Linked DNA regions of Homo sapiens: region 1 is linked to region 2. The links are contacts of gene promoters, found by promoter capture Hi-C in human tissues and cell types (Jung and others, 2019). All regions are on one chromosome and are shown on one strand. The core of a region is centred on a gene start or on the middle of the fragment in contact, and the rest is flanking DNA. Distances in the headings are between cores, read along the strand shown. Region 1 overlaps LOC124902489 (a long non-coding RNA gene). Region 2 holds the start of CNNM1 (cyclin and CBS domain divalent metal cation transport mediator 1).

Region 1 (4,848 bases), core at 638-3,137, 1.0 Mb before region 2:
ACACTCTGTATGATTTAAATTATTTTAAATTTGTTTAGGTTTTTGTTTTGTTTTGTTTTGTTTTGTTTGTTTTTTGTTTTTGAGACAGAGTCTTGCTCTGTTACCAGGCTGGAGTGCAGTGTGGTGTGATCTTGGCTCACTGCCACCTCCACCTCCTGGGTTCAAGCGATTCCCCTGCCTCAGCCTCCCGAGTAGCTGGGACTACAGGTGCACGCCACCATGCCCAGCTAATTTTTTGTATTTTAGTAGAGACGAGGTTTCACCATGTTGGCCAGGATGGTCTCGATTTCCTGACCTCGTGATCTGCCTGCCTCGACCTCCCAAAGTGCTGGGATTACAGGCATGAGCCCCGTGCCCAGCCTGTTAGGTTTGTTTTATGGTCCAGGACACGGTCTAACTTGGTATACTTTCCAGGGACACTTGAAAATAATGTGTATTCTCTGCTGGTGGGAATGTAAACTAGTACAACCACTATGGAAAACAGTGTGGAGATTCCTTAAAGAACTAAAAGTAGAATTACCATTCGATCCAGCAATCCAACTACTGGGTATCTACCCAGAGGAAAAGGAGTCATTATACGAAAAAGACACTTGCACACACATGTTTATAGCAGCACAATTCACAATTGCAAAAACCTGGAACCAACCCAAATGGCCGTCGATCAGCAAGAGGTTAGAGAAACTGTGGTGTGTGTATATATATATATATATATATATATATATATATATATATATATATATATATATGATGGAATACTACTTAACTGTAAACAGTAATGAGTTAATGGCATTCACAGCAACCTGGATGAGACTGGAGACTATTATGAAGTAACTCAGAAATGGAAAACCAAACATTGTATGTTCTCACTTGTAAGTGGGAGCTAAGCTTATGAGGATGCAAAGGCATAAGAATGACACAATGAACTTTGGGGACTCAGGGGGAAAGCGTGGCAAGGGAGTGAAGGATAAAAGACTACAAATAGAGAGCAGTGTATACTGCTTAGGTGATAGATGCACCAAAATCTCACAAATCACAGCTAAAGAACTTACTCATGTAACCAAACATCACCTGTTCACCAATAACCTATGGAAAAAAATGCGTGACATAAAAAGAAAATAATGTGTATTCTGCTGTTATTGGGTTGTTGGGTGAAGTGTTCTAAAAATGTCAATTGGATCTTATTGGCTGATGGTGTTGTTGAATTCTATATCCTGTTGATTTGCTGTCTAGTTGTTCTATCAATTATTAAAAGAGGAATGTTAATGTTTCCAACTATAATTGTGGATTTATTTATTTTTTATTTCAGTTCTGTCAGTTTTTGCCTTATGTATTTTTCAGGTCTGTGGTCTGCACATACATATTTAGGACTGCTGTGTCTTTTTAGTGGATTGACCCTTTTATTACTATGTAATGTCCCTGTCTGTGTTTGGTCATTATCTTTGCTCTGAAATATACTGTATCTGATTATAACATAGCCTCTCCTGTTTTCTTTTGATTAATGCTTGCATGATATGTCTTTTTCTATCATTTACTTTTAACCTCTCTATATTGTTATATATAGGGAGTCAACTAGTCAACTAGTTATGTATAGGGAGAGCAACACTGAAATATCACAGATGTTAGAATTTTCTGACAAAGATTTTAAAGCAGCCATTATAAAAATGTCTCAACAAATGATTACACAGTTGAAACAAATGAAAAAGAAAACAGTCTTAGCAAAGACATAAAAAGCTTCAGAGAAAAAATTAGAAAATATAAAGAAGAACCAAAAGGAAATTTCAGAACATAAAAATACAGTAATCAAAATTTGAAATCTCAATGGATGTGCTCAAGAACAGAAGGAAAATGGGTATTTATTCATCTCTTTACTTTTCTGTTTCTTTTTCTTTCTTTCTGACATTCCAACATTTCTTCTTTTTATTATTTCCTCCCTGTTTAGAAAATAACTCCTAGCCATTCTTTTAGGATAGGTCCCCTGGCAACAAATTCTCTGTTTTACTTCACTTGAAAATATCTTGATTACCCCTCCATTCCTGAAGGACTTTTTTGACTGATATAGAATTTGGGGTTGACAGTTTTTTCTTTTAGTTATTTTCTGTCTTGAGAATGTGCCATTTCTTACCGGCCTCCATGATTTCTGATGGAAAATCCTTTGTCATTCAAATTGTTGTCCCCTATAGGTAAGGTATCATTTCTCTCTCATTGCTTTCAATAATTTTCCTTGTTTTTGGTTTTCAGAACACTGACTATGATGTATCTTGGTATGGAGATACTTGGCTTTATCCTATTTGGGATTTATTCATCTTCTTGAATTTAGAGGTTTACGTATTTTGCCAAATTAAGAAAATTTTCAGCAACTATTTCTTTAAATGCTTTTTCTGGCCCTGTTTTCCCCTCTGCTTCCAGGAGTCTGATGGCAAGAATGGTGAATGTTAGATCTTTTGTTATAGTCCTACAGTTCCCTGAGGATTTGCTCATTCTTCTTCTTCTTTTTTTTTAAGTCTATCTTCTGTATATTGTTTAGATTAGTTAATATCTATTTCTCTATCTCTTAATGCATTGATTCTTTCCTTTGTCTCCTATATACTGTTCTCAAGCTCATCCATTGAGATTTCAAATTTTGGTTATTGTATTTTTATGTTCTAAAATTTCCTTTTGGTTCTTCTTTATATTTTCTATTTTTCCTCCTCTGAGGCTTTTTATTTCTTTGCTAAGACTGTTTTTCTTTTTTTATTTGTTTCAACTGTGTTTGTAATCATTTGTTGAGACATTTTTATGATGGCTGCTTTAAAATCTTTGTCAGAAAATTCTAACATCTGTGATATTTCAGTGTTAGTATCTCCTGATGGTCCTTTTCATTTAGTTGGAGAGCTTCATGGTTCTCAGCATGATGAGTGATTTTTCATCAAAACCTAGACATTTTGGGTGTTAGGACACTTTGGATATTGTTTAAACCTTTTATTTTAACTGGCTTTCTCTGATACTGCTCCATCAGGGGAAGAGTGGCATCATTTGTTACTGCTAGGTGGAGGTAGAAGTCCAGGTTCCCCATCCAGCCTCCCTTGACCCATGAGGGGGAGAGCTTCTCATTACTCCTGGGTAGGAATGGCTGGTTGGCTTTCTACTATGCTTTCCCTGACACTTCCTTGGCTAGGATGAGTAGGAGTTCTTGTCACTATTCCTTACATGGCCTTCACTGACCCCACAGGAAGGGGGTGGCCTCATTTTTACTGGGTGGTAGTGAAGGTCCTGACCCTCCATTAGACCTTATCTGACACCACCCTGGTGAGGAGGGGAAGGACTGCCTTATTGCTGCTGATTAGGAGTGGAAATTAGGCTCCACTGATACTATCAAGGGTATCAATGGTGGGGAGAGGCTCATTACTGCCTGCTGGGAATGGAAGTCCCAGCTCCCTACTCAACCTTTTCTGATACCACCATGGTGGAGGGACTGGGTGCCTGTTATAGCTGGGAAAGAATGGAGGTCCAGACTCATTGCCTGATCTTTGCTGGTGTGTGTGTGTGTGTGTGTGTGTGTGTTTCTGTGTGTGTACATGTGTGTTGGCCAGGGATGGGGGTAGGGGACAGAGCCATAGTTTTTTCTGTGATGTCTGGCTAGAGTAGAGCAGTCATTATCTGAACATTTTCTGTCTTGCTAACCTGCCCTTTTCCTGATATTTTAGCTGGAGAGAGCAGGTTTTTGTTTGACCGCTTTGTTTTTCTTGTCTATGCACGTTGGTGCAGCCAGGTTGCTTGCCTCTTCAGCAATAAGTCTAGGATATACATGAGGCAAAAATAACACCCAGAGAACTCACCGTCATTCGTTCCTTGGGCTCCAGGGTCTCTAGCTGGGTTGCCTTATTCTCTCCACCTTCAAGGGTCTCCTTATGTTTATTTTATATATAATGCCCAAGATTTTTAGTTGTATTAATACTTAAATTCCCACTTAGTGGGAAAGACAGAAAAAAGTGCTTCTATTTCATCTTCCCAGAGGCAGAAATGTTTCCTCCTCATTTATTTTCTGAAGAGTTTATGTAGGATTGGTATTATTGCTTCCTTAAATGTTCAGTAGAATTTTCCAGTGAATCCGTCTGAGCCTGTGGTTCTCTTTGTTGGAACGTTTTTTTTACTGTGAATGTCTTTACTATATCTAGGATTACTTACCTATTTTTCTTTTTCCTTTTTCTTTCTTTCTTTTTTTTTTTTAGACAGAGTCTCACTCTGTCAGCCAGGCTGGAATGTGGTGGCATGATCTTGGCTCACTGCAACCTCTCTGCCTCCTGGGTTGGAGCAATTCTCCTGCCTCAGCCTCCCGAGTAGCTGGGATTACAGTTGTGTACAATGACACCTGGCTAATTTTTGTATTTTCAGTAGAGACGGGGTTTTCGCCATGCTGGCCAGGCTGGTCTTGAACTCCTGACCTCAGGTGATCCACCCATCTCAGCCTCCCAGAGTGCTGGGATTACAGGCATGAGCCACCGCACCGGGCTGAGTTACCCATTTTTCATGTAAATGAAAGTTTGGCAGCTTGTGATTTTCAATAAATTTGTCTATTTTATCTAAGTTTTCAAATTTATAGGCATAGTTTTTTTTTTTAACATTCTCTTATTTTTAATGTCTTAGGGTCTACAGGGATATGCTTTTTTTTTCATTCGTATTATTGTGTCTTCTCTCTTTTTTTCTTATTAAGCCAGATCTTGAGGAGGACAAGCATTATCTTGTGAGGTGTCTACCTCAGCTGAGGACTTCGAATAGTATCCATTCAAGGGGCTGGATCTTGTAGGTGGGAAGATTTTCTTGAATAAGGGAGAGGGGGATGTCTCAGCCAGGCCAGAGGCTTCAAGTGAA
Region 2 (4,642 bases), core at 1,391-3,890:
TTGACCCCAGTTCTCTCCTTCCCTTATACTTCGAATAAATGCCTCAATGTTCCCTCATAAGATTAAACCTCCCTTCTGTCTCTTAAGTAGCCCATGCAAAAAGCAGCTTATAGTGGACAGGATCTAGTGTATTCTGAGACAATGGCATGTCACAAATGCCACGGAAAATGAGATTTCACACATAGGGATGATTTTACACTAAACCCAGGTGCCAAGGGTGGTATGTAAAATAACTCTTCCTTTTTAATTTATTAATTATTTTTAGAGACAAGGTTTCATGCTGTTGCCCAGGCTGGAGTGCAGTGATGCGATTATAGCTCACTGCAGCTTCGAATTCCTGGGCTCAAGTGATCCTCTTGCTGCAGCCTCCCAAGTAGATGAAACTACAGGCATGTGTCGCCATGCCTGGCTAATTTTTTTTAATTTTTAATTTTTTAGAGACAGGGCCTCCCTACATTGTTCCGGCTGGTCTCTAACTCCTGGCCTCAAGAGATCCTCCCACTTCAGCCTACCAAGTAGTTAGGATTACTATATTTTAAAATGTAATACAGACTTATGATAAATTTACCCAAGAGAAATAAAAATTTATGTTCTCACAAAAACCATCACACAAATGTTCATAGCCACTTTATTAATAATTGCTAAAAACTGGAAATAACTTAAATATCCTTTATTGAATGGATAAACAAACAGTGACACATCCATATAATGGAATGCTACTCAGCCATACAAAAGGATGAACTACTGAAAATCACAACAACATAGATGAATCGTAAATGCATTATGCTAACTTAGTAAAGGAAGGGAGAACCCAAAAGGCTACAGACTGTATTCTCCATTTATATGATAATCCGGAAAAGAAAACTATAGGGGAGAACAGATCAGTAGTTCCCAGAGGATAAGACGAAGGGAGGGGTTGACTACATACAATAGGACGGTAAGAGAATTTGGGGGGTGGTGGTGATGGAATTACTTTTTATTGTGATGTTTACATGTATATGCATTTGTCAACATTCATAGAACAGTACACCAAAAAGTGAATTTTACTATATAAAGTTTAAAAATAAATGCATAAAAATAATATAGTCGAGTAAATTCAAACAATATAAGGAATTTAATAAGAAAGTCTCCCTCCCAGATCTTGGTGATAATAGATCTGTATTTTGAGTGCAGTGATGGTCACATACATCCATACATGTGATAAAATGATAGAGAACTATATACACACATTACACCAATATCAACTTCCTGCTTTTGATATTGTACTATAATTAAGATGTAACCCGCCAGGCACGGTGGCTCATGCCTGTAATCCCAGCACTTTGCGAGGCCGAGGCAGGCGGATCACCTGAGGTCAGGAGTTCGAGACCAGCCTGGCCAACGTGGTGAAACCCCGTCTCTACCAAAAAAAAAAAAAAAAAAAATTAGCCGGGCGTGATGGCGGGCGCCTGTAATCCCAGCTACTCAGGAGGCTGAGGTAGGAGAATCGCTTGAACCTGGAAAGCGGAGGTTGCAGTCAGCCGAGATCGCGCCATTGCACGTCAGCCTGGGTGACAAGAGCGAAACTCCGTCTCAAAATAAATAAATTAATTAAAAGATGTAAACGGCGGGTCGCGGTGGCTCACGCCTGTAATCCCAGCACCCTGGGAGGCCGAGGCAGATGGATCATTTGAAGTCAGGGATTCGAGACCAGCTTGGCCAACATGGTGAGACCCCATCTCTACTAAAAATATAAAAATTAGCTGGGCGCGGTGGCGCACGCCTGTAATCCCAGCTACTCAGGAGGCTGAGGTAGGAGAATCGCTTGAACCCGGGAGGTGGAGGTTGCAGTGAGCCAAAATTGTGCCACTGCACTCCACCCTGGGCGACAGAGCAAGACTCCATCTCAAAATAAATAAATAAATAAATAAATCTCATATAAGTGTGTGTGTGTGTACAAATTTATACATAAATACTTTTAACACAAATGGTAGCATATTATACTTGCTGTTCTGCACCTTACTTTGTTTCTACAATTACTTTGGAGATTTTTTTCCGTATCACATATACAACAGATCCACCGCATTATTTTTTATTGCCGCATAGTATTCCATTGCACAGTGGTTTCACTTATTTCAACAGTTTCTTATTGATGGACATTCGGATCTTAACTAAGAATTGAACTTAAATAATCCAGAAATGTTTACAATAATGAAAGGTCGGCTGGAGTTGAGGCTAAAAGTTTTCACATATTCAAGACTTGACTCCAGAATATTCTTTTGACCAGAAGGGGGAATGCAAGTGGCAGGAGAAGCGAAAAGCTGGGAAATTTCCCGGGCCAATGGGGAAGCAGTGGAGCCGGCAGGGAATTACTGCCGGGTAGGAGTTCGCAGAGGAGCACCTTACTTTTGGAGTAGGAGGCCATGCTGCAAACCCAGACTTTTCAGGCTGCATCTCAGATATACCGAAGTGTGTACCCGCTACGCACAGTGCGGTGATGCCTGGCCACCTCCAGCCTCCAGCGGGGACCTCCTGCCCAGGTGGAGTCTGAATGCCCACCGCCACCAGCCCACGCGCGCAGTGGGCGTACACGTGGTGACCTGCCTGCGGCTGGGTTCCCAGCTCCGGCTCCTCCTCCCTCCAGCTCTCGCTCGGCTTCCTGCAGTATCACGTGCAGCTGCGCTGGGTGCAGGATGGCGGCGGCCGCGGCGGCGGCAGCAGCGGTGGGTGTCAGGCTCCGGGACTGCTGCAGCCGAGGCGCTGTGCTCCTGCTCTTCTTTTCCCTGTCTCCTCGGCCCCCGGCCGCCGCCGCCTGGCTGCTGGGCCTGCGGCCCGAGGACACTGCTGGAGGCCGCGTGTCCCTGGAGGGGGGCACCCTGCGCGCCGCCGAAGGCACCAGCTTCCTCCTGCGTGTCTATTTCCAGCCAGGACCGCCGGCCACCGCCGCACCGGTGCCCTCACCGACCCTCAACTCGGGGGAGAATGGCACCGGCGACTGGGCTCCGCGGCTCGTGTTCATCGAGGAGCCCCCGGGCGGTGGCGGCGTGGCCCCCAGCGCGGTCCCCACTCGCCCCCCGGGACCGCAGCGCTGCAGGGAGCAGAGCGACTGGGCATCGGACGTGGAAGTCCTGGGGCCCTTGCGTCCCGGGGGCGTGGCAGGCTCGGCCCTGGTCCAGGTGCGAGTGCGGGAGCTGCGCAAGGGCGAAGCGGAGCGGGGCGGCGCGGGCGGTGGCGGGAAGCTCTTTTCACTCTGCGCCTGGGATGGGCGCGCGTGGCACCACCACGGCGCCGCCGGCGGCTTCCTGCTGCGCGTTCGCCCGCGGTTGTACGGCCCAGGCGGGGACCTGCTGCCCCCTGCGTGGCTGCGGGCGCTCGGGGCGCTCCTGCTGCTAGCCTTGTCGGCCCTGTTCAGCGGCCTGCGCCTGAGCCTGCTGTCGCTGGACCCGGTGGAGTTACGGGTGCTGCGGAACAGCGGCTCGGCCGCCGAGCAGGAGCAGGCGCGCCGCGTGCAGGCCGTTCGCGGCAGGGGGACCCATCTGCTCTGCACCCTACTCCTGGGCCAAGCCGGAGCCAACGCGGCCCTGGCTGGCTGGCTGTACACCTCGCTGCCGCCGGGCTTCGGGGGCACCGGGGAAGACTACAGCGAAGAGGGGATCCACTTCCCGTGGCTGCCGGCGCTCGTGTGCACCGGCGCGGTATTCCTGGGCGCCGAAATCTGCCCCTACTCAGTGTGTTCGCGGCACGGGCTGGCCATCGCCTCGCACAGCGTGTGCCTGACCCGGCTTCTGATGGCAGCCGCCTTCCCCGTGTGCTACCCGCTGGGCCGCCTGCTGGACTGGGCGCTGCGCCAGGAGATAAGCACCTTCTACACGCGGGAGAAGTTGCTGGAGACGTTGCGGGCCGCAGACCCCTACAGTGACCTGGTGAAGGAGGAGCTCAACATCATACAGGGTGCCCTGGAGCTGCGCACCAAAGTTGTGGAGGAGGTGCTGACCCCCCTGGGAGACTGCTTCATGCTGCGCTCAGACGCGGTGCTCGACTTCGCCACTGTCTCCGAGATCCTGCGCAGCGGCTACACTCGCATCCCAGTGTACGAGGGTGACCAGCGGCACAACATTGTGGACATTTTATTTGTCAAGGACTTGGCCTTCGTGGACCCCGACGACTGCACCCCGCTCCTCACTGTCACCCGCTTCTACAACCGGCCCCTGCATTGTGTTTTCAATGACACCCGACTGGACACGGTTCTGGAGGAGTTTAAGAAGGGTGAGCAGTAGTCTATCTTCTCCCCCAACTCCTATCCCCTTCAAAGGTATTATCCTTTCCTAACCACGTGAGGCTCTAGGTACCCAAAGCAATTTCTCTCCTATGGTACTAAAAACCCAAGGAAGACTCTACCTCTTGGCTCCCTGGCTATTTTCATCTCACTTCTGCCTCACTTCTTGCTCCTGATTGAGCCCCAGGCCTCTTTCCTCTCTACTTGATTCACAAGATGCACCATATTCCTTATTTGTTCCATTCTACCAGGTTTTTCCAAGGCCTACCAAATGTCAGATACTGTGTAGGTGGGAGATAGCCCTTGAAGGTCATTGCATAGCTCCCCACCTATTACAGGAGACACCTCTGCAGGTTCCCATACAAGCAGCCTTTGCTTTAAACTCCT

What was found. The method cuts DNA at HindIII sites, captures the fragments that hold promoters and counts their contacts. A contact is called where the count stands out against the background at its distance.
Region 1: a contact is called between a fragment that was not itself captured here and the fragment with the promoter of CNNM1 in region 2, in 1 of the 25 tissues and cell types used here (mesenchymal stem cells).

What each region holds. Positions count from the first base shown.
Region 1 is chr10:98,279,004-98,283,851 of GRCh38, forward strand. LOC124902489 (a long non-coding RNA gene) reads left to right here. Exons shown (of 2, transcript XR_007062260.1): 2 at 1-1,278. Among named protein-coding and RNA genes, the nearest start is that of LOXL4, 13 kb to the left of the region's middle. The HindIII fragment of the contact is 6,301 bases long and covers 1-4,848 here.
Region 2 is chr10:99,326,716-99,331,357 of GRCh38, forward strand. CNNM1 (cyclin and CBS domain divalent metal cation transport mediator 1) reads left to right here and starts at 2,641. Exons shown (of 11, transcript NM_020348.3): 1 at 2,641-4,245. The coding sequence starts at 2,673. The HindIII fragment of the contact is 11,915 bases long and covers 1-4,642 here.